7 separate regions of the Homo sapiens genome follow, and all the other regions are linked to region 1. Evidence: promoter capture Hi-C in human tissues and cell types (Jung and others, 2019). All regions are on one chromosome and are shown on one strand. Each heading gives the region's core, a stretch centred on a gene start or on the middle of the fragment in contact. The rest is flanking DNA. Distances are from core to core; before and after follow the strand shown. Region 1 holds the start of TMEM200C (transmembrane protein 200C). Region 2 overlaps LINC01892 (long intergenic non-protein coding RNA 1892). Region 3 overlaps ARHGAP28 (Rho GTPase activating protein 28). Region 4 has its middle 11 kb from the start of LINC01892. Region 5 has its middle 7.9 kb from the start of LINC01387. Region 6 has its middle 32 kb from the start of L3MBTL4. Region 7 overlaps LINC01387 (long intergenic non-protein coding RNA 1387).

Evidence for each region. The method cuts DNA at HindIII sites, captures the fragments that hold promoters and counts their contacts. A contact is called where the count stands out against the background at its distance.
Region 2: a contact is called between a fragment that was not itself captured here and the fragment with the promoter of TMEM200C in region 1, in 1 of the 25 tissues and cell types used here (dorsolateral prefrontal cortex).
Region 3: a fragment that was not itself captured here is called in contact with the fragment with the promoter of TMEM200C in region 1 in 4 of the 25 tissues and cell types used here (H1 embryonic stem cells, bladder, dorsolateral prefrontal cortex and 1 more).
Region 4: a fragment that was not itself captured here is called in contact with the fragment with the promoter of TMEM200C in region 1 in 1 of the 25 tissues and cell types used here (H1 embryonic stem cells).
Region 5: a contact is called between a fragment that was not itself captured here and the fragment with the promoter of TMEM200C in region 1, in 1 of the 25 tissues and cell types used here (lymphoblastoid cells).
Region 6: a contact is called between a fragment that was not itself captured here and the fragment with the promoter of TMEM200C in region 1, in 2 of the 25 tissues and cell types used here (dorsolateral prefrontal cortex and lymphoblastoid cells).
Region 7: a fragment that was not itself captured here is called in contact with the fragment with the promoter of TMEM200C in region 1 in 3 of the 25 tissues and cell types used here (dorsolateral prefrontal cortex, lymphoblastoid cells and stomach).

The regions. Positions count from the first base shown.
Region 1 is chr18:5,894,055-5,897,371 of GRCh38, forward strand. It overlaps TMEM200C (transmembrane protein 200C), which reads right to left and starts at 1,468. Exons shown (of 2, transcript NM_001395400.1): 1 at 976-1,468. All of the region lies in intron 9 of MIR3976HG (MIR3976 host gene), which reads left to right. It overlaps LOC121725015 (a long non-coding RNA gene), which reads left to right and starts at 1,673. Exons shown (of 3, transcript NR_172505.1): 1 at 1,673-2,032. The HindIII fragment of the contact is 12,914 bases long and covers 1-3,317 here.
Region 2 is chr18:5,092,917-5,096,527 of GRCh38, forward strand. LINC01892 (long intergenic non-protein coding RNA 1892) reads left to right here. Exons shown (of 4, transcript NR_146900.1): 3 at 2,630-2,897. Among named protein-coding and RNA genes, the nearest start is that of LINC01892, 14 kb to the left of the region's middle. The HindIII fragment of the contact is 3,921 bases long and covers 1-3,611 here.
Region 3 is chr18:6,745,241-6,748,522 of GRCh38, forward strand. All of the region lies in intron 1 of ARHGAP28 (Rho GTPase activating protein 28), which reads left to right. Among named protein-coding and RNA genes, the nearest start is that of ARHGAP28-AS1, 17 kb to the left of the region's middle. The HindIII fragment of the contact is 7,565 bases long and covers 1-3,282 here.
Region 4 is chr18:5,068,390-5,071,783 of GRCh38, forward strand. No RefSeq gene overlaps it. Among named protein-coding and RNA genes, the nearest start is that of LINC01892, 11 kb to the right of the region's middle. The HindIII fragment of the contact is 3,103 bases long and covers 1-2,974 here.
Region 5 is chr18:6,501,671-6,505,329 of GRCh38, forward strand. No RefSeq gene overlaps it. Among named protein-coding and RNA genes, the nearest start is that of LINC01387, 7.9 kb to the right of the region's middle. The HindIII fragment of the contact is 7,445 bases long and covers 1-3,659 here.
Region 6 is chr18:6,445,737-6,449,010 of GRCh38, forward strand. No RefSeq gene overlaps it. Among named protein-coding and RNA genes, the nearest start is that of L3MBTL4, 32 kb to the left of the region's middle. The HindIII fragment of the contact is 3,941 bases long and covers 1-3,274 here.
Region 7 is chr18:6,528,020-6,531,253 of GRCh38, forward strand. The region is part of intron 2 of LINC01387 (long intergenic non-protein coding RNA 1387); the gene reads left to right. Among named protein-coding and RNA genes, the nearest start is that of LINC01387, 18 kb to the left of the region's middle. The HindIII fragment of the contact is 4,806 bases long and covers 1-3,234 here.

The sequences.
Region 1 (3,317 bases), core at 218-2,717:
GAAGGCTTTAAGGACCAGACATTTTTTAGAAGCGAACTCAGACTCAGTTGGCAGGGTGGCTCTCCCACCGCAGAAAGGCTACATGTTTTGTTGGGCATTGATCAGGTGCGCCGGGAGGCTGGATGCCTTGGGGGAGGAGGAAACCCACTTGGATTTCTCCTCAGCAAGGCAGCTTTGGCTCCGGTAGAATGTAAGGAAGGTTGGAATGGATTTCAACAGTCCTTTACCGCACATCTTTAAAATGAGTTTAATAGCTAGTAATTAACTCCCTCGTTTATTATTCCTTCAGCTCTGTTGAAGGCTGTACTCCCTTTTAATGTATCATCATCTGACACGAAATACAGACAAAGGTCAGATGCCACGGGAGACCCACCTTTGAGGTTTTCCTTTATACCTAATGAAAGAAAACAAACTTAGCAGTCAAGCTTGGCTGCCCTCGCAATTTACTGCCTGGAGCTGGTCTTACCGTGGTTAAAGAATGGAGGATGGGGGAAGCAAAGGAGGGATGTCTAAAAATACAACTGCTTCCAAGAGAGACATTCAAGTTCTCCGCTCAAGATGGATTAAGCCCCACTCTGAGGCTCGGAGGCTCGGATCCCACAGGCTGGGAGCGCTGTGCTGTGCCCGGTACCCAACCCAGGTCCTCGACCCCGGCCCCTCACTGGCAGGGCGGCGACCCCCTGGCCCCTGGCTTTGGTCTGCTTATTGATGTTAGCTGGAGTCACATGAGTGCAGCAGCTGGGAGTCCGCCTCTGGAAAGAAGACAGGCAGGAGCCAAGTGAGGGCAATCCTGAACTAGCTTTTTCTGGGCAGCGCATCCCGTGTAGCCAGCCCGGGAAAAAGCCTCTCACCGAACACCAGCCCGGGGCGCGGGGACTCGGGGACCCGAGGGGCGGGGAGGGGCCCCCAAGGGCTGGGGACTGGCAGAATTGCTCAAAATGGCAGCACTCTCCGCACGCAAGATCGCTCACTTACCCAGGGAGACCGAGGGAGGTCGGGGCCGGCGAACGGGCGCTCGGGCGACACAAAGGAACCATGGAGAAACTTTTTCAGCCCGAGCCGACGGCGGAGCGCAGGGACAGCGCCCCGGGGCCCCGCATCCGAGCGCGACTCAGCAGCCCCGCGGGGGCGAGCGCCCGCCCCAGGCTCGCAGTCCCCGCCGGCGCTGTGGCGGGAGCCATTTCCAAGAGTTTCCAAGAAGTGTCAGGTCCTCCGCATCCCGCATCCCGCATCCCGCCTCGGAGCCCTCCTCTCCGCCGCTCATCCTCCAGCTCCCGGCGTCCCCTAGCGCGGCGCTCCCGGGCGGGCCCCTGCGGCCGCGCCGCCGGCCCTCGCGCCTCTTTTGTGTGGCTGCGGCGCGCCGGGCTCCGCCGGGTGGAGTTGAGCCCGCGGCGGCGGCTCGGGGCGGCCGGACTGGCGGCTGTTGCTAAGAGACCGGAGCCATGACACAGGGAAATTGCGGCAGGGTGGCGGTCGGGGCCCGCCCGGCTCGGCGGAGTCGGGGGGCGCCCCCGCCCCCGCCCCCCGCCCCACCCCCTCCTCCGGCGCCCCCCCCCACGCCGCCGGCCTTCCCCGCTCCCCCGCGTCCTCCGCCGCCCGCCGCCCGTCCCTTCGGAAGCGCCGATTCCTCGGGGAGGAGGAGGCGTGAGGGGAGGCGGCGGAGGCAGCCGGCACGGGGCGCTCGGGCCGCGGGGCAGGGGGCGCGGGGTGCCTCCTCGGCCTCGGCTCTCCCCGCCCCGGGGCGCCCCGAGACCGCCGCCTGCCTCCGCGGGCAGCTTTGTTCTTCTTTCCTCCAACTACCTGTCTGAGCCGCGGGCCCCAGAGGCCCCAAAGAGAGGCCCGGAGGGTCTCCCCAGCAGCATCCGAGGGGCGCTCTCGGGGAGCTAGGGGCCAGAGTCCGCGGTCCCTCCGTGCCTGCCTCCCTCCCCTCGTGCCTCGGTCTTTTGTTGCCTCTACTCCTCGGCACGGCGCAGCCTGGGCTCTCTTCCCCCTCCCGCTTGGGAGTTTGCAGTGTGGACGCTCGGCAAGCACAGTAAGTTGTCCCCCAGCGAACTCGGGCCCGGGCGGAGTGGAGCCGCCCCCGCCGGGACGGGCGCACCGCGGGACGCTTGGAAGCCTCTGCCAGATGCGCTCGCGCTCCAGCCCCGCCGGGCTTTGTGACCAGCCTGACCGGGACCCGGCAGCTGGGGCTCCTCGGAGATCAGAATGGGCTCCGGGGCTCTTCCTTGGGCAGCCCCTCCTGCTCCTCCCCGGTGCGGTAATCAGCAAGCATTAAAAGGAAAACTATAATTCTCCAGGAATCAGGAATCAGGGTTGGAATCAGAGAGGGGAGGTGGGGGTAGGGAGGATGTCCAAACTCCCTACGTCATTTAAAAAAGAGAGAAGGCGAGAGAGAGAGAGAAAGAGATCGAGATCCTGTTTCCTAGTTCATCCCTGTCTTCTCAACTGTAAAGTAAAAATGACAGGGAAAAGAGAATTTCAAAGTGGAATTTCCCCAAAGAGTATTGAGAAAGTGAGAAAGATTTCATTTATCTATTGAAATGAGGCAGCCAGGATTCAGGAAGAAAGGAACAGAAGAGCAGATGAAGCAAGTGCTGTCTGAAATTTTGGATCCAGATAAATATTTTGGTGGTGGTGGGTGTTATATATTCTGAGTTTTGCTGCTTAGGGGTCCACAAAACCCACACAGGAGGGCTCTGCTGCCCGCAGCTCCTGTTACAAGATTGTTCCCCACATACACAGCATTCACTTGTGCTTAAATCTAGAGCAGACACTTTTCAAAAAGAACAATAAAGACAACCAATTTACAAGTTCAATGATATAAATGTGAACAGTGATCTAAGAGATGGGGATAGAGACGGTGGGGGACAGGAGGGAACGAAGCAGAAGTGTTTTCTAAAAGGCAACCCTGCATTCACCTGTTGGAAAGGTGGCCTCTGTCACCCTTTTCAAGCAAATAACGAATCTGAATGATGATCAGGGTGTCCGGAACCCACCGCCTTCCCCCTACCTATTCATGCTCAGATTCAGGCTATTAGAAAACAAACCATAATGAAGGGAAAGTTTTAAATCCCACATTGGGTTGTTTCCTTTTAGAGAAATCACTGCAAAGGAAAAATAATAAGATCTAGTTGTCGTTTTCTAAAGCCTTTTTGGCTCTGAACTTCCAGATCTCCTGAATCCCAATAATAATCTGGTATTTTTTACAAAGATTGGGCCTACAGTCTCATTTCATTGCACAGCTAGCTGCCAGAGTCTATGGGCGGCAGTTCCTGTGCTCTGTTTGCTGGGCTGTACAAACAGGAATAATACTGCAG
Region 2 (3,611 bases), core at 606-3,105, 800 kb before region 1:
AAAACAACAACAACCTATAAACTGTTTTGAATGAAACAAATACATTTCAATCCTATCCTCAAAGGGACTTGTATCTGGAATGAAACGAGAGGCATGTATAGGAAACAGGACAAGAGAATGAACAAAAAGTTAAGGGGGCAAGAAAAAGTAAAATGTAGAATGAATGTGGACTTCCCAGATTCCAGGTTCCAAACTGAATGAACTTTGGTGTGCTATCAAAGAAGAATTTATTTTAAATCCTATCCTAGGGGTATAGTTAATTTTATTTAAAAATATTTTACTGAGATCTGTATCTCCTTGGGTCATAGTCTAAATGAAAACCTGGAGGTATAAGAATGGCTTAGGTAAAAGTATTTTACCTCTCTTTGTTCATTATATTTTATTTTCTTAAAAGAGCTGTGTGCTTATTCAAGGAGAGAAGACGATTTTGAAAATGAGATGTTGGCAAGAGGTGCAGTCCCTCAGTGCTTCACTGTGGACCCTAGAGGTTCCATCCCTGCTGCCTGGGCCCATCTGTCATAGCACCTGTCCACATTTTGGGTGCCACCACTAATGACATCTTGTTGGGTGAATCTTTCTTTCCTAATATCCTATAAATCCATAATCTCATTTCAGGAATATACTGAGGACGGGAGGTGTGGGATAAACAAAAGGACTTCAAAAAATTCACAGAAAAATAAAATTAAAAGATAGAAATACAATACATAAACTTTTTCAATGTAAGTTTCATCAATGCCAAGATGTTTTTGTAAGCAATGATACCAACCATGTAGTCCATCCGTGAAAGAATTGAGGGCCCTGGGAATTTAACCTTGTCAATGCAGTGTTTTGTTTTTTTACATTATTAACCTAAGAAAAATGGATGCCCTTTAAATTTTTTTTAAGATTAGAAAACAAAAAGAATTCATAAGGAAGCAAATTAGGACTGTAAAGTGGATGCCTAATGATTTTTTCACTGAAACTCTCACAAAAGTGCCCTTGTTTGATGGGAGGAATGAGCAGGAACATTGTGGTGGTGGAGAAAGACTGTCTGGTGAAACTTTCCTGGGGGTTTTTCAGCTAAAGCTTTGGCTGACTTTCTCAAAACACTCTCGTAATAAGATGTTATCACTCTTTGGTCCTCCAGAAAGTGAACAAGCAAAATGCCTTCATCATCCCCAAATAATGTTACCATGACCTTTGCTTTTGACTGGTCCACTTTCGTTTTGACTAAGACCACTTTCACCTCTTGGTAGCCATTATTTTGATTGTGTTTTGTCTTCAGGATTGTACTAGTAAAGCTGTGTTCCATCATCTATTACAACTTTTCAAATAAATCCTTCAGGATGTTGATCCATTTGTTTAAAATTTCCATTGAAACCTCTGCCCTTGTTTCCCAGCTGATCTGGGCTACACAGTTTTGGCACCCATCAAGAGGAAACTTTGCCCAACTTTAATTTTTTAGTCAGCATTGTGTAAGATGAACCAGTTGAGATGTCTATAGATTGCCTCCAAATTTAAGTCCATCCTTTTTATGTATACTTCTGAAGAAAAAATTACTTCTTCACTAATATGTTCTAGCATTTCTTCTTTCCATGGAAGACCACAATTTATATGAAAGGAGTTAATTAAAACGTGCACTTGAGACTGCTAATTTTATGACAGCCTGGGTATTGCTTGGCAAAACAATAAGGATAATATCTGACTGAAATAAATAAACTTATACTTGAGAGAACTTTATGGTAGGCAACCTGCTGAGGAAAGAGATACCAGCAGGACATTGTGTTGACCAATTTCATGTGTCAACTTGGCTAGGGCATGGTGCTCAGTTGTTCGGTCAAATAGCAGTCTAGATGTTGCTGTGGAGGCATCTTGTAGATATGATTAACATCTATAATCAATCGAATTTAAGTAAAGGAGTTTATCCTTAATAATGTGGTTGGGCCTCATCTAATCAGCTAAAGGCCTTAAGAGCAGAGACCAAGGTTTCCTGGAGAAGAAAGAATTCTACCTCAAGACTGTAACATGGAATTCTGCCTGAGGGCCAGGTGTGGTGGCTCATGGCTGCAGTCTCAGCACTTGGGAGGCCAAGGTGTTTGGATCGCTTGATGCCAGAAACTCGAGATCAGCCTGGGCAACATAGGAAGTTTCCATCTAAAACTAAATAAGTTAAATAAATTAAATAAATCCTGCCTGACTTTCTAGCCTGCTCTACAGACTTTGGAGAATCACATTAGCAAATTGCTTAAAACAAATCTCTCTTTCTGTCATGTTGGTCCTGTGTTTCCTCTGGACAAACTTGATTGATAAAGAGATTAATTCAATAAAAAGAAAAATGACTAGAAGGGCTTTAAAATGGTATAATTTCATAAAACTAAAAGATTAAGAAAAAAAGCCTTCACAGAATTAACCTGGGCAGGGCAGAATTAGGAGCATCAACAGGGGGTTTTCTTTACAGAATGTAAGGCCTCATTCACTCCTCCTGTGGCCAAGCTCTAAGGGTATATTTTGCAATAGAACGGAGATGTGTTGCTGCCCAAAATGAGGAAGAAATGAGGAAGTCCAAGGTCTAGAATTCAGCACTGGGTAGTTCTTTTAAAACCTGGTATCTACAAAAACAGATCCTACATTTTAATTCTTATCAATCTAGATTCAGAATTTGGCTGGATGCTCCTAAAGAGCTACTGAAATAGACTCAATGGCAGCTACGATGCCCAACAGAAGCAGCGATGCCTGGTGCACATAGCAGGTTGCTAGCAGGAGTCATCTGGGGTGATTCACCTGTCTTGTTGGTGAGGATATGGACATCATCTGGGGACTCTCAGAAATCCCTGAAGTGATATAGAGTCCCACATGAGCTTGCCTGTGGTGTTTTACAAACCAATAACGTAGTGTTCATAAACCAAAGTCACTTGGAGGTAAGTAGCTGCTACAGTAGATTGTAAGCATCAGAACTGTTTTATATATCATATAATTCCCATGTGCTTATCACTATTCAAAACATTAATATCCACAGCAGCTATACCCAGCCTAGTAGCTCACAGATCAGCCTATAATGAAATTTTCAGTATTGCAAAGTAATAATATTAATACAAGAGTACCCAAGTAAAAATTATCTTTTTGTGCAAGCAGAAATTCAACTCTTGAGAATTAGTTCCTTGCCTTAAAGTTTAAACAATTTTAAAATCGTCACAAGCTTAAACACAAACAACCACACAGGGCTCCAAAAGAAGAGTCTTTTTTTTTTTAAATGGTGACTCAGCCTGACTTTTGTGACTAATTAAGCACAAATTTCACCAAGCAGAACACACTTATGCTTTTAAGTCTGGGCTGGAGAGGGACCATTTTTTTGCAAACAATTGCTCCTGTCACAACAATAAGAATTTCAATATAGAGTGAATTTTGTAGTCACTATTATTTTAAGTATTCTCCCATCCCCACCGAAAGTGGGTCATTGAAATAATGACCAGATGAAAATTATAGGAATAACTATTCCTATACCATTTGACCACATTTCTACTGACATACAAATAAGCTAATACCTACATCTATAATGCACAAGATTTCTCTTTTCCTTCCTTGTTCCCCTGATTTTTTCCTTCAGTCTTCCCTCCCTTCATCTCCTGTACCCC
Region 3 (3,282 bases), core at 485-2,984, 850 kb after region 1:
ATGACATATTGCAAGAATGTGCCTGGGAAGAAAATGGGCTTAGAGGCTTGACAGGAATTTCCTTCCACCAAGGAACATTTCTTCACCTTTTTTTCTCTCTTCTTCACCTTTCTATCTTCACTTCATCTTCTTATCCATTACCATGGAGGGAAAATTATATAATGGTCATGAATCTAAAGACCTCCAGGATTTCTGAAGCCATACCCACAAACAAATAAAAATAAATGCTTTATTTAGTGATGTCAGTTTAAAAATCGAGGTATACTTCCTCTACAGTAAAGTGCACTGTTAAATATTCAGTTCCATGATTTTTGACCCATGTAACTACCATCCAAAACAAGATATATAACATCTCCCTCGCCCCAGACATTTTCTTCATGCACTTTGTTCCTTCAATTACTCCTTCCAGGCAACCCGTTTCTGACTTCTGTCACCACAGATTAGCATTGCCTGTTCGTGGAAGCCATCACAGCATGTATGATTTGTGTCTGGCTCCTTCGCTCATCATAATGGTTTCTGAGGTTCACACACATCATTTCATAGAAGCCTGAAAGTGCCAATAATGTGTACAGACCATTTAGTGGTTTTATCCTATTATTGTACCCAATTGTCATCCAGCTGTCTGGCAGCTGTTGGCTGTTGGGTTAAGAGGGGCTGGGCAAGGAAGCAGGTTTAGAGTAAAACCTATCACACTGTGAGAAAACCGAACTCAAGATTCTACTCCCAGGACACTGCATCTGGAGACTCATTTCTCCATTGTAGACCCAGCCAAGATTGGGATGTAAGCAAGTTTATTTTTGCGCCTGATCAATTTACTTTGGCTTCCTGGAGCCCTTCTATTTTCCCTGTAGTGATCCACGAAGGGATCATTTTGTTCTACCAAGGAACAGTCTTCTCAGCATTTAAGGTGTTTTACCTTCCCAAAGCATATATACATTTCTTTAAACCTCTAATAGTGAGACTCCAGGTCTCATTCAGAGAACGGAATGTTCTTTAGGCAGGAAGTCACACACCTCAGTGCACATAATTTAGACCAGGGGTTGGCACAGTTTTTCTGCGAAGGGTCAATATTTTAGGCTTTGCTGGTTGTATTTTCTCTGTGGGAACTCTACTGTTGTTATCGAGAAAGCAACCATAAACATTACATGAACCAATAGGGTTGATTGTGTTCTGATAAAACTTTATTTAGAGAAACAGGTAGTAGCCTGGATTTGGCCTGTGGGCCATAATAGTATCTGACTCCTGTTTTAGACAGCTTTCTACTCCGCCTACTCATGAGGCTTGTGTAGCAAGCCTATCCTAGCAAAATACAGAGAATTAGTTTTCCAGAATACAGAAAGCTGAAAGGAACCTGGGGTTGCACCTGTTACAATCTCTCATTTTTAAGTGAAAACACTGAGTCTCAGAGTAGTAACTTTTCAAGGTCACAAGGAATCAGTGAAGAGTCCAGACAATTCAGTCTTTAACAGATTCTGATGGATATGAGTCACATTACTTCAAATATAGTGTCATGTTGACATTTGGAGAAACTGTCTTAGCTCATGTGTTTTAAAGGAATAAAAGAGAAAGAGAAAGAGAGAGAAACGGATATAGGAATTCATGTGGTAGTGTTCTGAAAACTTAACCAGGGGTCAGCCAAGAAAGGATGAGAGTTATACATTTGGCAAGTAGATTGATTAATGAAACAAAAAACAGCACTGTATATTGAACACTTTGTCTAAGTCTGTTTTAAAATTATATATGTATGATGAATGAATAATAAATAATTTTAACTGAGAAAATAGAGACCTCTAGATTCTCTGATATTCAGTTCATTCATCCATTTATTTTCTTTTTTTTTTTTTTTTAGCAAACATTAATCAAATATCTTCTCTTGAAGCCACCATGAAAGAGCAAAGCTAATCAAGACAGAGTTCCTGTGCTTGAGGAGCTTATATTGGAGCCCAGGAGAACTGGGAACCATTTCTTGTTTAGTACTGTATCCTCTAAAGAGGAAACAGGGTTTGCTTCATGGAGGACATGATACTTGAGTTGGACATGTGGATATGGTGTGATGTGTGTATATTGGTCTATAGATGAAGGTAGACGGTAGGGAGAGGGAGTCAATAATTCAGTCAATAATTCAGGTTGGATGTATTTAGAGATTGGCAAGGGAAGTAGTGATAGTTTTTGTAGATATGTTTGGCAGGGTTTAATTTGTGGGATGGGATTGGCTCAACAGACCAGTTGTCAAAGAGATGTCAGTTGTTTCAGCCAAAGCAGTTAAAATAAGTTAATAAAAGTGCCTCACTTTGGGAGGGTGTCTTCAACTCTATAGATGCCATATAGTCTATTGAAGTAATTAAAATATTGAATTAAATATTAAAGCATTGATTTTGAAAGAATCAGACTCAAGCAAAAAATTCTTTTAGTGCTCTTGAAGAGTTCATGCTTCCCCACAGAAAAAATACCCAAATAACTGGTAGAAACTACTTTACACATTGGAAGTAGCTGATTTAATAGCTACTAATCATAAACATATGCTGGAATCATAGTGGTTCAGCCAGAGTGCCAGTATTCGGACTTCACATTTAGTAGAGACATACATAGCTCTTACCCCCAGTGACTCACACTTTCTGTGTTTACCTTGGCTTGTGGTTGGATGATCCAGCTGGGTATCCAGTGTTGTGCACCAAAGGCACATGGGGTAAGCAGAGGGGGAAGGCTTTAACTCGACACTAATGAAACACTGGCTTGCCTTAGGCATTTTAGTAATTATGTGAATGCAAAAATATTACTAATAACAGAGCATATTGTGGAGGCCATCTCAAACCTGGTCATCTGCATTCAAGCTCATGGCCACAGGTGCTGTGGAATGCACCGTTTGCTGTGAAAGTGGTGAAGGAGATCCAGTTAGAGATTTTCTGCCTTCCTGGAATGACACCACCCCTAGAATAGAAATCTCCACATTCCCAAACAAGATTCAACCTAAATCAACAAATATTCGGTTCAACGAACCAGTTACTGCATCAATACCTATTCCGGGAAACTTTTACATCCAGGGTATCTTTACATTTATAGATACCATGACTATATTGTATACCTGGAGAGAGCTCTCACAGTATTAAGAGTGTTTCTCTGGTACATAGAGATTAGCTTTGAACAAGTATAGGGCAAGTTCAGTATAAAAATAGCACATGGCTAAAATAGGGCCTGGCTCGAGTGACTGCTGTGTTGGAGGCTGCCATCTGTGTTGTCTCCTTGAATCAGGACACTTCTGGGCAGCATTGCCATGATGGGCAA
Region 4 (3,394 bases), core at 173-2,672, 830 kb before region 1:
TTAAAAACTGAAATTAAATAAGTCCTGGAATGTTCCATGGTGCCTTGACAAGTAGAAAAGTGATCAAACACATTAGATCACCTGCCTGGCCAGTCTTTGAAACAATGAGACAAAAAAGGAAACTCATTACATGTCAAGCTTGGGTGATTAGATTAGATTTTCTATATCGTACCTGTCTGGGCTACATTTGCATAAGCTCACAAAATGCAGGGGAGGCTTAAAGCAGGTTGTCATGCCATGCCTGGTTGGACTTGTTCATGCTAACAAGGCTGAAGGAGCTACTAACTTCAGCATCAGGGGCGGTAACTCTCTCTCAGCACTTCAAGATCCAAATAAAATAATTCACAGAGATTTCAGTTTAGAGAACAGTGAACAGTTAACTAACAGACACCTTAGCTAGTCTGAACGGTTGAGTCTCCTTAAGAAATTCTGCAAAACACGGATTCAGAACTTAAGAGAGACAGAATAAAGCAACACAATGAATCAAGAGCAATCTGGTGTCTTTTTGAAAGAGGAGAAGACAATGGGGAAATAGCATTTTTTTAATTCTACATCATTGGATTTCAACTGACCATGAATCATTTCATCCCATATTTATGCAGTTCTGTAGACTTTCAAGGCAGTCTTGAGTCCACTATCACATTTATTCTGACGTCTGTTCTCTGCCGGTCACATCTGAATCATGCATTTGCGGGCTGAGAACACTCAGCCTCTGTGCAGTTGAATGACTCCTTCATTCACATGGAGCATAAATAGTAAGCCCAATTCTCCACCCCAACTTGTGTTTTCATTTGCCTTTTGTATGTGGATTAAAAAGGTGATGTTAAGGCACATTTAGTAGAAAGAAGGCTTTTTATCCAAATTTTAGATGGGAGGGAAAGGAAGGATAGTGGCAAGAAGATGGTGTAGTTTCTTAACAGTATAGACTTCAGCTTCTGCTCCATACCAAGCATGCTCGGCATGAGCTAGTAGCTTCCTCCTCCATCCTCTGTTCCCAGCCTCTACCGGCCTGATCTGGCTCTTGATGCTCCAATCTCCTTCACCACTCTCACTCCCAGGAGCCACATTATGACCTTTTGACCTCCCTGATCAGCCTCTTTGACATGACCAAGGTGGCCTCGATTGCCTGGTCCCACCCCCAGGCCCTTGCTTGTATCAGTCCCCAGCCTAGATCTCTTCTATCAGCCATTCCTGCTCTGGGGACACTGTTTCTCCCACTCCACTCTTGCTGCCACTTGGGATCTTATTTCTCACCTGGATGACTCCAGTGGACTCCAGCTTCCAGGTTCTCCCCACGTACTACTGCCATAGAATGCTCACCAAAGGGAAATGTGTTGACTGAATGGCTGCTCTACCCCAGGAACTTTAATATGTTTCACTTTTGCAAGGACACTATAAGTTCATTTTTGTATTACTATTTGTTGAAACTTTTTATTGACAGAAAAGTGCGTATATTATATTCTAGTGGTAAAGCTTGGCAAAATTTCACAGATTAAACACAACATATTCCGCAGTCACATAAAAGCAAAACAAAACAAATAGACAAATAAACAAGAAACAGAGAAACCCTGAAAGCATGACTGTTGGGTCATACGTTATGCATGTACCTGGCTTTAGTGGATATTGTCAGTTTTCCAAAGTGGCTATACCAACTTACACTACCATCAGCTGTGTGTGATGGTTCAAGCTGTTCTACACTTACCACTTGGTATTTTCTATTTAACCATTCTGGTGAGTGGGTAGTGATTAACACCACCTTAAAATAAGAAAAATTAAATTCAGGGGGATAGACTGTCTTGTCCCCAGATGCCAGCAAAGGAAGCACTTGAATGAGTTCTGTCTACTCAGAACACCCACAGCTCCTTTGCAGTAGTAGTATTCTGCTTTTTTGTTCTCTAACGTTTTTATCAACACTCTCTCTATTTTTTCCATAGATAATTATACCTTTGCTTTTAAGAGCTGTCATAAATAATTAAAATATTTGAGCTGAATTAAATACCATAGCTCAGTTAATAACATGGGCTTTATTTAGGACCAGACAAGTCTGAGTTCAAGCCCTAACTTCAATCTTACTAGCTATAGTTCTCTAGGCTTCAATTTCTTCACCTCTAAAGATGAGAATGAGGGTAGAAACTAGCTCCTGAAGAGGTGATGAGGACTAAATGAGATGATACATGTAAAGTGCTCAGCACAGAGCCTTCACACAATGATCATTCAACAAATTAGTAGCAAAAGAGAGATCTCGTGTGTAAATACTTTTAAATATTGAAGTTTTATATATTCAGACAAATACAGTGAGTTGAGTGCAATTAGAATAATTTTGATTCTAAATAAGCTGCTAAGAGTCTTCATTTTCATGAACATAAAAATTAGGGTTCAAGTCTGGGCAACATAGCGAGACTCTGCCTCTACAAAAATAAAAATAAGCCCAGCGTAGTGGGGCAAATTGGCAGACCCAGCTACTCAAGAGGCTGAGGCAAGAGGATCACTTTACCTCAGGAGGTCAAAGCTGCAGTGAACTAGGATCACACCACGCACTACAGTCTGGGTGACAGAGCAAGACTCTGTCTCTAAAATAAAAATAAAACAAAAAAAAATTGGTGTTCATTAGTGACAACTGTGTAACTTAGCAACAGACTCCACTTGCTATGTTATCAATCCCTCCTCTGGTATAGTGGTGGATTTTCACTCACCACTTGTCAAAATGATCAAACATCGTGACTTCTTAGAATCTATTTTAACAAGGGGAGGGGATTTTATCAGGATTTGCTGGACATTTCAGGGAAAGCCCCCTTTGTGTGAGTCTTGGTAAGAGGCTTCCTCTGCCAAAGAAGGACCACTTTCTCCTTCCCTGCCATTGGGTGGCATGTGAGCTAGGCTAGTCCAATCACAGGTTTCGTCCAGGCCTTGCTTCTGGAGAGGGTGATAAAAAGTGTGAATTCACGGCATCTCTGAAAGTCTACTGGGGTGGGGCTGGGAGCGCACACAGCTTTGGAGATGGCAGTAAAAGATTCCCTGGCCCGACTCCAGGCCCCTGCCATCCAGACCCCTTGTGCCTGCCCATTCAGAACTGCTTCACCATCCCTTTTGTTGATGTAAAGAAGACATTTTTCACCTGCTTAAATTGACCATATTTGGCTTATCTTGCATTCAACCAAGAACCCAAGGGACACAACAAGTTTCACTATATTTTATTGCTCTAACTTAGGTCTAAATCTTTCTCTGGTGGTTTGAGAACTCCACAAGATTCTGAATTTCTGTTTCTATGAAAGGCTGTTTGAGGAAAATAAGTTCATAACAGCCTGGGAATGGGAAGCCATAAAGAGGAGATGCTCTAGAAACATTACTCTGCTACCCTGACTTTGAAAGTCTTAGATTTGCAGGGTTATACAGA
Region 5 (3,659 bases), core at 546-3,045, 610 kb after region 1:
TTAAGAAATCTGATAATGTCCAAGTATTGGGCAGGATGTGGAGCGGCCACAGCCCTATACACTGTTTGTAGGAGTGTCTATCACTACAACCACTCCAGAAAACAACCTGGCATTACTTTCTGAACCAAACTAAACACTAAACTCCCCAGCCAACTCAATGGAACCCCTCTTGAGCAAGGGGACCCCAGAGAACCTGAAAAAATTAATTCCTGGTCACGATGGGGAGGAAGATTGGAGACATCTCATTTTACCACTCTCCTTTTGGAGTTCAGGCACAACTGACCAGTATTCACATTAAAATAGAGATCATAGACTGACAGAACAGACCCTTTGGCAATAAGATACCAAATTTCAGCCTGACTCTGTATAACATCACAGGACAGATAGCAGATCCTAAAGGAGATCAAAATATTTTACCCCAAAATACATTTTTTTCACATATTTTAAAATGGCCCTGCAAAGCTATCTTTTGTAGGGTAAATTTGCATCTGTAAAGAATCTCCAGTAATGCAACCAGTCCTTTCCTGGATCTGGAAGAGATTAATTAAGAGTCTGACACCTTTTAAGGTCCAAAATGGGACATTTACCATCTATTTCTCTGGAGCTTACTACCTGGAGGCTTTATCTGCATAACAAAAACCATGACTTCCATAATCCCCCTTATCTTGACTCAAGCATTTGCTTGTTCTTCTGACTTCAGGCCTTTAGCTTAACTCTTTCAACCGACTGCCAATCAGAAAATCTTTGAGTCTACCTGCGACCTGTGACTATAAACCCCACTTCCCATGAGATGTCCTCTCTTTCTGGGCTGAACCAATATATACGTTACATGTTTGATTTATGTCTTTGCCTATAACTTCTCCCTCCTTAAAAATGTATAAAACCAAGTTGTAACTTGATTGCCTCAGGCACACTTTCTCAGGACTTCTTGAGACTGTTCCCTGGGCCATGATCACTCAATATTGGCTCAGAATAAACCTCTTTACATATTTCATAGTTTGCCTTTTTGTTAAGCAAATCTGTTAAGATGAAAATGTGCACACTCATTGACTAGGCAGGACCTACATATATGTTCTAGATAAACTTTGCAAACATACATTAAGGGATTTGTACAAGAAGATGTATAGCAAAAAATTGGAAGGAATCTAAATTATAGACAATAATAGAATGTATGCTTCAGTAGTGGTCTAATCATACAATGGGCTATCATAGAGCAGGGAAAATGAATAAACTACAGCTACACATGCAACACACACTGATATAGTTTGGATCTTTGTCCCCACCCAAATCTCATGTTCAATTGTAATCCCCAGTGTTGGAGGTGGGGCCTTGTGGGCAGTGATTAGATCATGGGAGTCGTTCCTTCATGAATGTTTTAGCACTGTCACTTTGGTGCTGTTTCCATGATGGTGAGTGAGTTCTCACAAGATCTGGTTGTTTAAAAGTATGTGGCACCTCTCTCTCTTCCTCCTATTCTGGCCATGTAAGATGTGCCTGCTTCCCCTTTACCTTCTGCCATGATTAAGTTTCCTGAGGCCTCCCCAGAAGCAGAAGCTGCTATGCTTCCTGTACAGCCTGCAGAACCATGAGAAACACACACATACATAACTACATTTCATCCCATTTGCATAAAGTGCAAAAAATGTGAAAAATTACATAACACATTCTTCAGGAATGAAATGCATAAGGAAAAACTATAAAGAAAGGTAAAGAAATGATTAACACAAAATTCATATCAAAGAGGAGGGAAGCGGATCGGATTAAAGGAACTAGAGAGCTTCCAAATCAAAAGGAATATTCTATTTCTTAAACTGGGTTTTGGATACATAGGTGTCCATTGTAGTGTTATTCTATATACCTTACATACATTAGACTAATTTATATCTACTTGAGATTTAATAAAATGTTAAAATATTTTTAAAAAGCAAATTGCAGAATACTGCACACACCATAACACTCGTTAAGTAAACATGTTCACACAGACAAAACCACATACATCTGTAAATATGTCATTGCATAGCAGAAAGTGTAAAAGGCTCTCCACACACTGAAAATGGTAACTGCATCTAAGGAGACAGACTAGCAATGTGGACAGAGCTCAAGGAACATTTGGATAGAGTTTTATTTTTTACTTTTCTACAGGGAGTTTTTTTATATTAATTATGTAATTAAAATAGGTTTTATAAAATTGAAGAAAAATTTGAAGAGAATTTGAAAGGAAGGAAGAAAAAGGGGAGAGAGAGAGGATAAAGAAAGGAAAGGAGGGAAGTAAGAGAGGAGGAGAGAGGCAGAGAGAAAGGAGGGAGGAGGAAGGGAGGGAGGAGGGAGGGAGGAAGGAAGGAAGGAAGGAAGGAAGGAAGGAAGGAAGGAAGGAAGGAAGGAAGGAAAGGAGGGAAAAAGGGAGGAGGAAAGGAAGAGACGGAGGGCGGGAAGGGAAGGAAGGAAGTGATACAGGAGAGAGAAAGAAATTATTTGGACAGATAGTGAGGACAAAAGAGTCCCCAGCAGAACTTCCCTTCTAACAAAAAGCAGCCCTTGAAATCACTTCTTTTCTAACAAAGAGCTCCTTGAAATATTGAGCTGCAAACATAGATAAGGAAGCTGGAAGCTTGCACAAGGGGATGCTGGCAGTGGCACAGACAGAAGGGGCTACCTGGGGCCAGGCATGTCCACCACGGGCGCTCCACCTCCCCTCTTTTTTAGCAACATGGGGTAACTACCCACCTACATAATAAAAGATTGGGGTGGAGGCTGCCAGAAATTCACACCCTATACATATGACACACCTGGTCCTAACTGGTTTTTTACACCCTGTGTAGATCAGATACCACCTCTCCCAAATAGCTTATCTATAAAAACCCTTGCATTTCACTGCACATCAGCAAACCATTTCTTCTGGGACCCCTCTCTGTAACAAAGAGCTATTCTCTTTCTTTCACCTACTAAAATTCTGCTCTAAACCTCACTCTTTGTATGTGTCCATGTCCTTGATCTCCATGGCTATGAGGCCAAGAACCTCAGGTGTCACCCCAGACAACAAGGCTGGTTCAGAAGGAAGGAAAGAAGGAAGGAGAGAAACAGGAAGGAAGGAAGGAGAGAGAGTGAGGGATAGAAGGAAGGAGGAAAGGGAGGAAGGAGGGAAGGAAGGAAGGAAGGAAGGGAGGAAGGAAGACAAGCAGGTAAGCAAGCGACACCTCTGCTGGGCAGGCCTGGAGAACTGCAGAGCTGCTTCAAGTCCCAGCTCTGTCACAGGTGACTTCCCCGTAAAGGGAGGACGCTCCAGCCACCTCTTGAAGTGACTGACCTTTTCTGCTTCCAAGGGCAGGGCAGGGTGGGGGTTGAGAGGTGTGGGGAGGGTTTGAGTGACTCAGATGCTGGGTGAGTCAGCTGGTCCCAGGAAAGGACAAAGGCTCCATCGGGCTCTAGGTAGAGCCACCATTTTTTGCTTTCAAGGAGTTTTTTCAAAAAGTATGCTAATAAACTGTCATGGTTTAAAAAAACTGTGGAAACTTCAACTTTCATTATTAATTATCTGTAACATAAATTTTCAGAGCACTGAGCCCTTAAAACATGAATTGTTTTTCCAAGGGATGAGATTACATTTTTGTCTAATATTTTCCTGCGATGAGACTTCACTTCTTCCTGAGTGTTAGGATCTG
Region 6 (3,274 bases), core at 460-2,959, 550 kb after region 1:
TTTCCAAACTTTAGCCTCCAAACCCTTTGTTTATTTGAAATCTAGTCTATAAACAGGATAAAAAAGCAGACCTGTTCTGCCTGGTCTATTTCTCCCTCTGTGGTCTCACTGTCCTCTAGTGGGTCCATGAAACGGGGGAGATCATGGATCCCTCTGTTCTTGGGATCCCACATGCTTTTAGTAGTCTAGTCACCTCTAACAGGGCTCTCTCCAGGAACCATGGTTCACCCCCTCCTTCCCCCAAGCCTAAGGAAATCGCTTCCTATTTGCAGGACTATCTGCTCTAACTACTTCCTCTATCCTAGGGCATCATCCTTCCTTGAGGATTTATGGTTCTATTTTACAAAAGCAAGCAGGCTTGGAACCATCTCTGGTTTTCTGCCCTGCAGAGCCTTTCCTGAGATAATGAGCAGGGGTGAGCTATGTTTGGCCTAGTAAAAGGAAAGTAGGGGACATCTGGGGTGGGTGGGGGTGTTATCAAAATATCTAGCCAGGCAGTTTTCTATGCATTAGGAAATAATTTTTTTCTCTGTATGCCACATTAAGACTATAAAATCTGTGAAGGCTGGACCCACAATGGGCAGCATGCACAGAAACTGGCAAATGGTAAGAACTTAGAGAGAGAGAGAGAGAGACAGAGAGAGAGAGGGGGAGGGGTAGAGAGAGAAAGAGGGAGAGAGAGAATAAATTAACTGCTAAGGCTGCACAGAAAACACTGTGAACTACTCATTTGTCCAAATCTTTGACAGAATGACACATTAACCATCTGGAATATATGCCCTCTTCTCTAAATCTCATGAATTCCCCATGTCCCTTTGCAGGTTTTCCAGTGGTTCTCCCATAACTGTCAGTAAGCACTACCTTATATCTTAGCTACTGCTTCTATTTAAAGATGTCTCAGCCTTCTACTATGCCTTCTGTAGCAATGGCTAGTCACTTGTCAGAACCCTGTAAGAGAGTTCTTTGTGTACTTGAACACTTGGATCATCCCTGTGCCTGCTTTTCCATGAATCAAACAATCCAAACTCTTAATAATATTATTTTTCACAAACCCTGTTTTTCATTAGTTTGTAATTTGGGACTGTTATTGTTTTCTGTAGTTTCAGCCAAATTTTGTATGTTACTTTCTAAATGTAGAGACCAGGGTAGGAGTTGGGACTATGAGGAGAAATTACTTAATGGGTAAAATGTATGTTAGTCTTGTGATAGATGCCTAAAAAGCCCTGGTTTGACCACTACACAATCAATGCATATTAACAATATTGCCCTTGGACCCCATAGATTTATGGAAATTAAACTTTTTTAAAAAAAAGTAGAGACTAGAGTGAAAACAGAACTTTGTCTCACTAAATTAACCCTTGCTTTGCATTCCTTCCTGAAACATCCTCACAGGTACCCACAGCACATTGCTGGGAGCTAGGCTCAGGAACTATTTGCTAGAAAAACTGAGGTCAAGTTGGAATCCTGGTCTGATACTTCCCATCCCTGTGAACTTAATATTGTGTAATAATCGTAGCAGTGTCCCCTGTGGGTGGCTGGGAGGGTCTGTGAGTTCATCCATGTGGAGCATTTAGAACAATGGCCAGGACAAAGTATAGGTTCAATAAATGTTTGTTATTGGTTCTGTTGTTATTGCTGCTACTGTTGTTATCATTATTACTACTATTACATATCAGGCTCAGTGTACTCAGAAGAAACTTAAAGTACGGTGAGTCACAGGCAGCCTGCAGTAGGGAAGAAAGAGAAGGTAAGTAGGGGAAGGGCACAAGATGAGTGGAGACCTTAAATTCCCACCTGCCTTATTAACTACGTCCAGACTTTGTTCTCCAAGTCTGGTATGGTGCCTGGTTCCTGTTCCATAAATATTCATTAGATGGATTAATCCAATTTACCTTCTCACCATCTTTCTGTGAGCAAGCAACTTTTTAAAGACTATTAAATGACCATAGAACAAACTAAGTGTCTCCCTGGAGAGACTTCCTTGGAGAAAGCTTTCCTCCTGCTCTCCTCAGGGCACATTTTCTAAGCAATTCTATGAAACTCTACAATTGTTGTTAGAAAAAAAGTAACTCAAAGCCCAGCGTCTGTCTGCAGGGCCTACAGGGGATGACATCTTGTATAGGTGACATATATTTCCATGTGCTCAGAGCACAGCCCTCCAAAGTTAAACATTCCCAAGCTGATTATTGTTTGTCTATGCCAGACAATAATTAATTATGCCAGTGAGCGCCAGAGGCAGCAGAAACTGAAAAGTGAAGAATGATCTTTTATCAAAAACCCCGAACTGATTGTGGAGTAGCTCCAGTACTCTGGCTCTGCCAGCAAGAGAGCGGGATTTGCTCCGTTCTGCTCTGCCATACTTCTATGTTCTGCTTCAGCAGAGTGTGGAAGGGTCATATGCCTGCAATCTGACAGCCCCGTGCGGCCCCTGGGGAAGAGCCCATGGCTTGCCCTTCTCCCGCCCCTCTCAGGGGGCCACCCTGAATCAGATGGTTCTTGCTTCAACACAATGGATATGTCCTTTACTTGTGCTGTTTCTGTCTTATATTGACTAGTTTGTGGTCCTATAAAAAAAAATCCTACTTATTTAATATGCTGTTCAAATTCCTGCTTCCCAAAGAAAACTATAGCATTACTATAGATGTGAAGAACATCCTTCATGATAGCAGTGAATGCAGCCCAACACTGTAACTATCATCTGTTCCCTTCATGACCAAACATTGTATCAAGGACAGTTGTTCAGCTTTAGGAGATGCCTACATCTTGGTACATCATATCAATAAATGAAACTTTAAAAATAATCATCTATATAGATAATGAAAAAAATTGTATGGCAAACCACTGGAAATGATCTCATGAAAATCCAGAATAAAATAAAGGAGCCCAATACCATGATAGTTATTTAATATTTTAGGTAGTTTTTGACAATTACAAGAAAGCATGAAACACACATTAGGTGCATATGTAAAGAAAATAATAAAATTATTGTTTCTTGTAGATGGCATAATTTTAAGCCCAGAAGTAGTAAAACAATCAACTGAAAAATTATGAGAATTCTAAAAATTCAAGGAAATAATTACATACAAGGTAAATATACTAAAATGAATAGTGTTCATGTATATTGGCATAGCCAATTTTTAAAAAATTGTCATTAAAACAAGTTATTATTATTAATAATAAATAGTAGACAGATATAATAATAGACAGTATTCCTGGATACACAATCTTAAACATTGTTGTGGCTTAGCTGGGCACAGTGGCATGTACCTAGGGT
Region 7 (3,234 bases), core at 184-2,683, 630 kb after region 1:
GAACAGCCTTCAGATGAAGGTGAAGCTTTATTCAAACCTGCCTTGACTGCTTTTAGCAGTGTGACTTTGAACAAGTTATTGCAATTCCTGGTTCTCACTTTTCTCATATGTAAAATAAAGACAGTATCTACCTAGTATGATTGTTGTGAGGAGCGAATAAACCATAAAAACACTAAAACAGCTCATGACTCCTTAATAATGGCAGGGCTGTTGTCATTACCCTGTATTTGTAGTATTCCTTCCTCAAAGCGAGGCCTGGAGACCTTCCCACACCATCAATCTGGATCAGTGAGTCTTAGACCTGGCTGTGAGTGAAAATTGCCTGGAAGCTTTTACAAATACCCCTGACAGGTGCCCACTCCAGAATGATGGAATCAGGATCTTTCCGGGTGGGGCCCACATATTTTGTAAAGCTTCCCAACTGATTCTTATTTGTAGTCAAGATTAAGACCCACTAGTCTAGGTTAATTAGCAATAGTCCCCCCAACACACACAGACACTTATGTCCATTTCTTGAACCTGCTATCCCTAGTCATCTTTGGTATAGAATCATATCCTCTGTGAGGGGAGATAATTTGACCTACTCTCTTCCTATTTAGATGCCTTTTATTTCTTTCTCTTGCCTGATTGCTCTGGCTAGGACTTCTAGTACTGTGTTGAATAGGAGTGGTGAGAGTGGGCAACTTTGTCTTGTTCCAGTTCTCAGGGGGAACACTTCCAGCTTTTGCCCATTCAGTATGATGTTGGCTATTGGTTTGTCATAGATGGCTTTTATTATTTTGAGGTGTATTCCTTCAATGCCTAGCTTGTTTTTTAATAAACTAGGGTTTTGAACTAGGGCTTTTAACATGAAGAGATGTTGAATTTTAATCAAAAGCCTTTTCCATTTATTAAGTTATTGATTTGCATATGTTGAATCAACATTGCATCTCAGGAATAAAACCTACTTGATCATGGTGGATTAGCTTTTTAATGTGCTGCTGCATTCAGGAGAGGATTTTGGCATCTTTGTTCATCAGAGATATTGGCCTGAAGTTTTCTTTATTCATTATGTCTCTGCCAGGTTTTGGTATCAGAATGATGCTGGCCTCATAGAATGAGTTAGGGAAAAGTCCTTCCTCCTTGCTTTTTTGGAATAATTTTAGTAGGATTGGTACTAGCTCCTTTTTATATATCTGGTAGAATTTGGCTGTAAATCCATCTGGTCCAGGGCCCTTTCTGGTTGGGAGGCTTTTTATTACTGATTCCATTTCAGAGCTCAGTATTGGTCTGTTCAGGATTTCAACTTATTCCTGGTTCAATCTTGAGAGGTTTTATGTTTCCAGGAATTTATCAATTTCTTGTAGGTTTTCTAGTTTGTGCATAGAGGTGCATAGAAGTGTTCATAATAGTCTCTGAGCATTTTTTGTACTTCTGTGGGGTCGGTGATAATGTCACCTTTGTCGTTTCTGATTCAGTCCATTTGGATCTTCTCTTTTTCCTCTATTAATCAAGATAGCAGTCTATCAATCTTATTTATTCTAAAAAAAAATCTTTGGTTTCATTGATCTTTTGTATGAATTTTTATGTCTCATTTGCATTCAGTTCAGCTCTGATTTTGGTTATTTCTTTTCTTCTGCTAACTTTGGGGTTGGTTTGGTCTTGTATTTTTTAGCTTCTCTAGATGTGATGTTAGGTTGTTAATTTGAGATCTTTAACTTCTTGATGTAGGCATTTAGCAATATAAACTGTCCTCTAATGCTGATTTAGCTGTGTCCCAGAGATTCTGGTATGCTGTAGTGTTTTTTTTTTCTTTCATTTACTTCAAATAATTTTTTTATTTCTGCCTCAATTTTATTATTTATCCAGAAGTCATTCAGGGACAGGTTGCTTAATTTCCATGAAATTGTATAGTTTTTAGAGATCTTCTTGGTGCTGATTTCTATTTTTATTGTGCTATGGTCTGAGAGTGTGGTTGGTACAATTTTGGTTTTTTTGAATTTGTTGAGAATAACTTTATGGCTGAGCATGAGGCCAATCTTAGAGTATATGCCATGTGCAGATAAGAAAAATGTATATTATGTTGTTGGGTGGAATACTCTGTAGATGTATATTAGGTCGGTTTGGTCAAGTGTTGAGTTTAGGTCAAGTGTCGAGTTTAGGTCAAATATCTTTGCTAGTTTTCTGCCTCAGTGATCTGTCTAACACTGTCAGTGGGGTGTTGAAGTCTCCCATTATTATTGTGTGGTTATAGAAGTCTTTTCATAGGTCTCTAAGAGCTTGTTTTGTGAATCTAAGTACTCCAGTGTTAAGTGCATATATATTTAGGATAGTTAAGTCTCCCTGTGGAACCGAACCCTTTATCAGTATGTAATGTCCTTATTTGTTCTTATTGAATGTTGTTGATTTAAAGTCTGTTTTGTCTGAAGTAAGAATAGCAGCCCTGCTCTTTTTTGTTTTCTGTTGCTTCATAGATCTTTCTCCATTCCTTTACATTGAGCCTATGGGTGTCATTGAATGTGAGATGAGTATCTTGAAGACTAACTGTCCTTAGCTTCTAAAGGACTCTATGTTGCAATACTTTTTTTCTTTTTTTTTGAGACAGGATCTGGTTCTGTCACCAAAGCTGGAGTAGTGGCATGATCATTGCTCACTGTAACCTTGAACTCCTGGGCTCAAGAGAACCTCCTGCCTCAGCCTCCAGATTAGCTAGGACTACAGGTCCTTGCCACCATGCCCAAGTAATTGTTTTTATTTATGTATTTTTTTAGAGATGGGGTCTTACTATGTTGCCCAGGCTGGTCTCAAATTCCTGGCCTTAAGCAATCCTCCCACCTTGGCCTCCCAAAGCAGTAGGATTACAGGTGTGAACCACTGCACCCAGCCTTCCAATGGTCTTTTTATTTTTAGTAATATTAGTTTCTAGAATTCTATAAAACAAGAAAAAATTCAACGTGAAATTCTGAAGTTATCCTTCCTTTCACCTCTTAATGTAAATCTAACATAGGTTCCACTTTTAGCAATTAAAATTCATTTTAGAAGTACCTACACTGCTGAACATTTGATGAGACTAAAAATTATTTTCTAGGCTGGGTGCAGTGGCTCACGCCTGTAATCCCAACACTATGGGAGGCTGAGGTGGGTGGATCACTTGAGCTCAGGAGTTCAAGACCAGTCTGGGCAACATGGTAAACCCCGTCTCTATTAAAAATACAAAATTAGCTGGGCATGGTTGTGCATGCATGTAATTCCAGC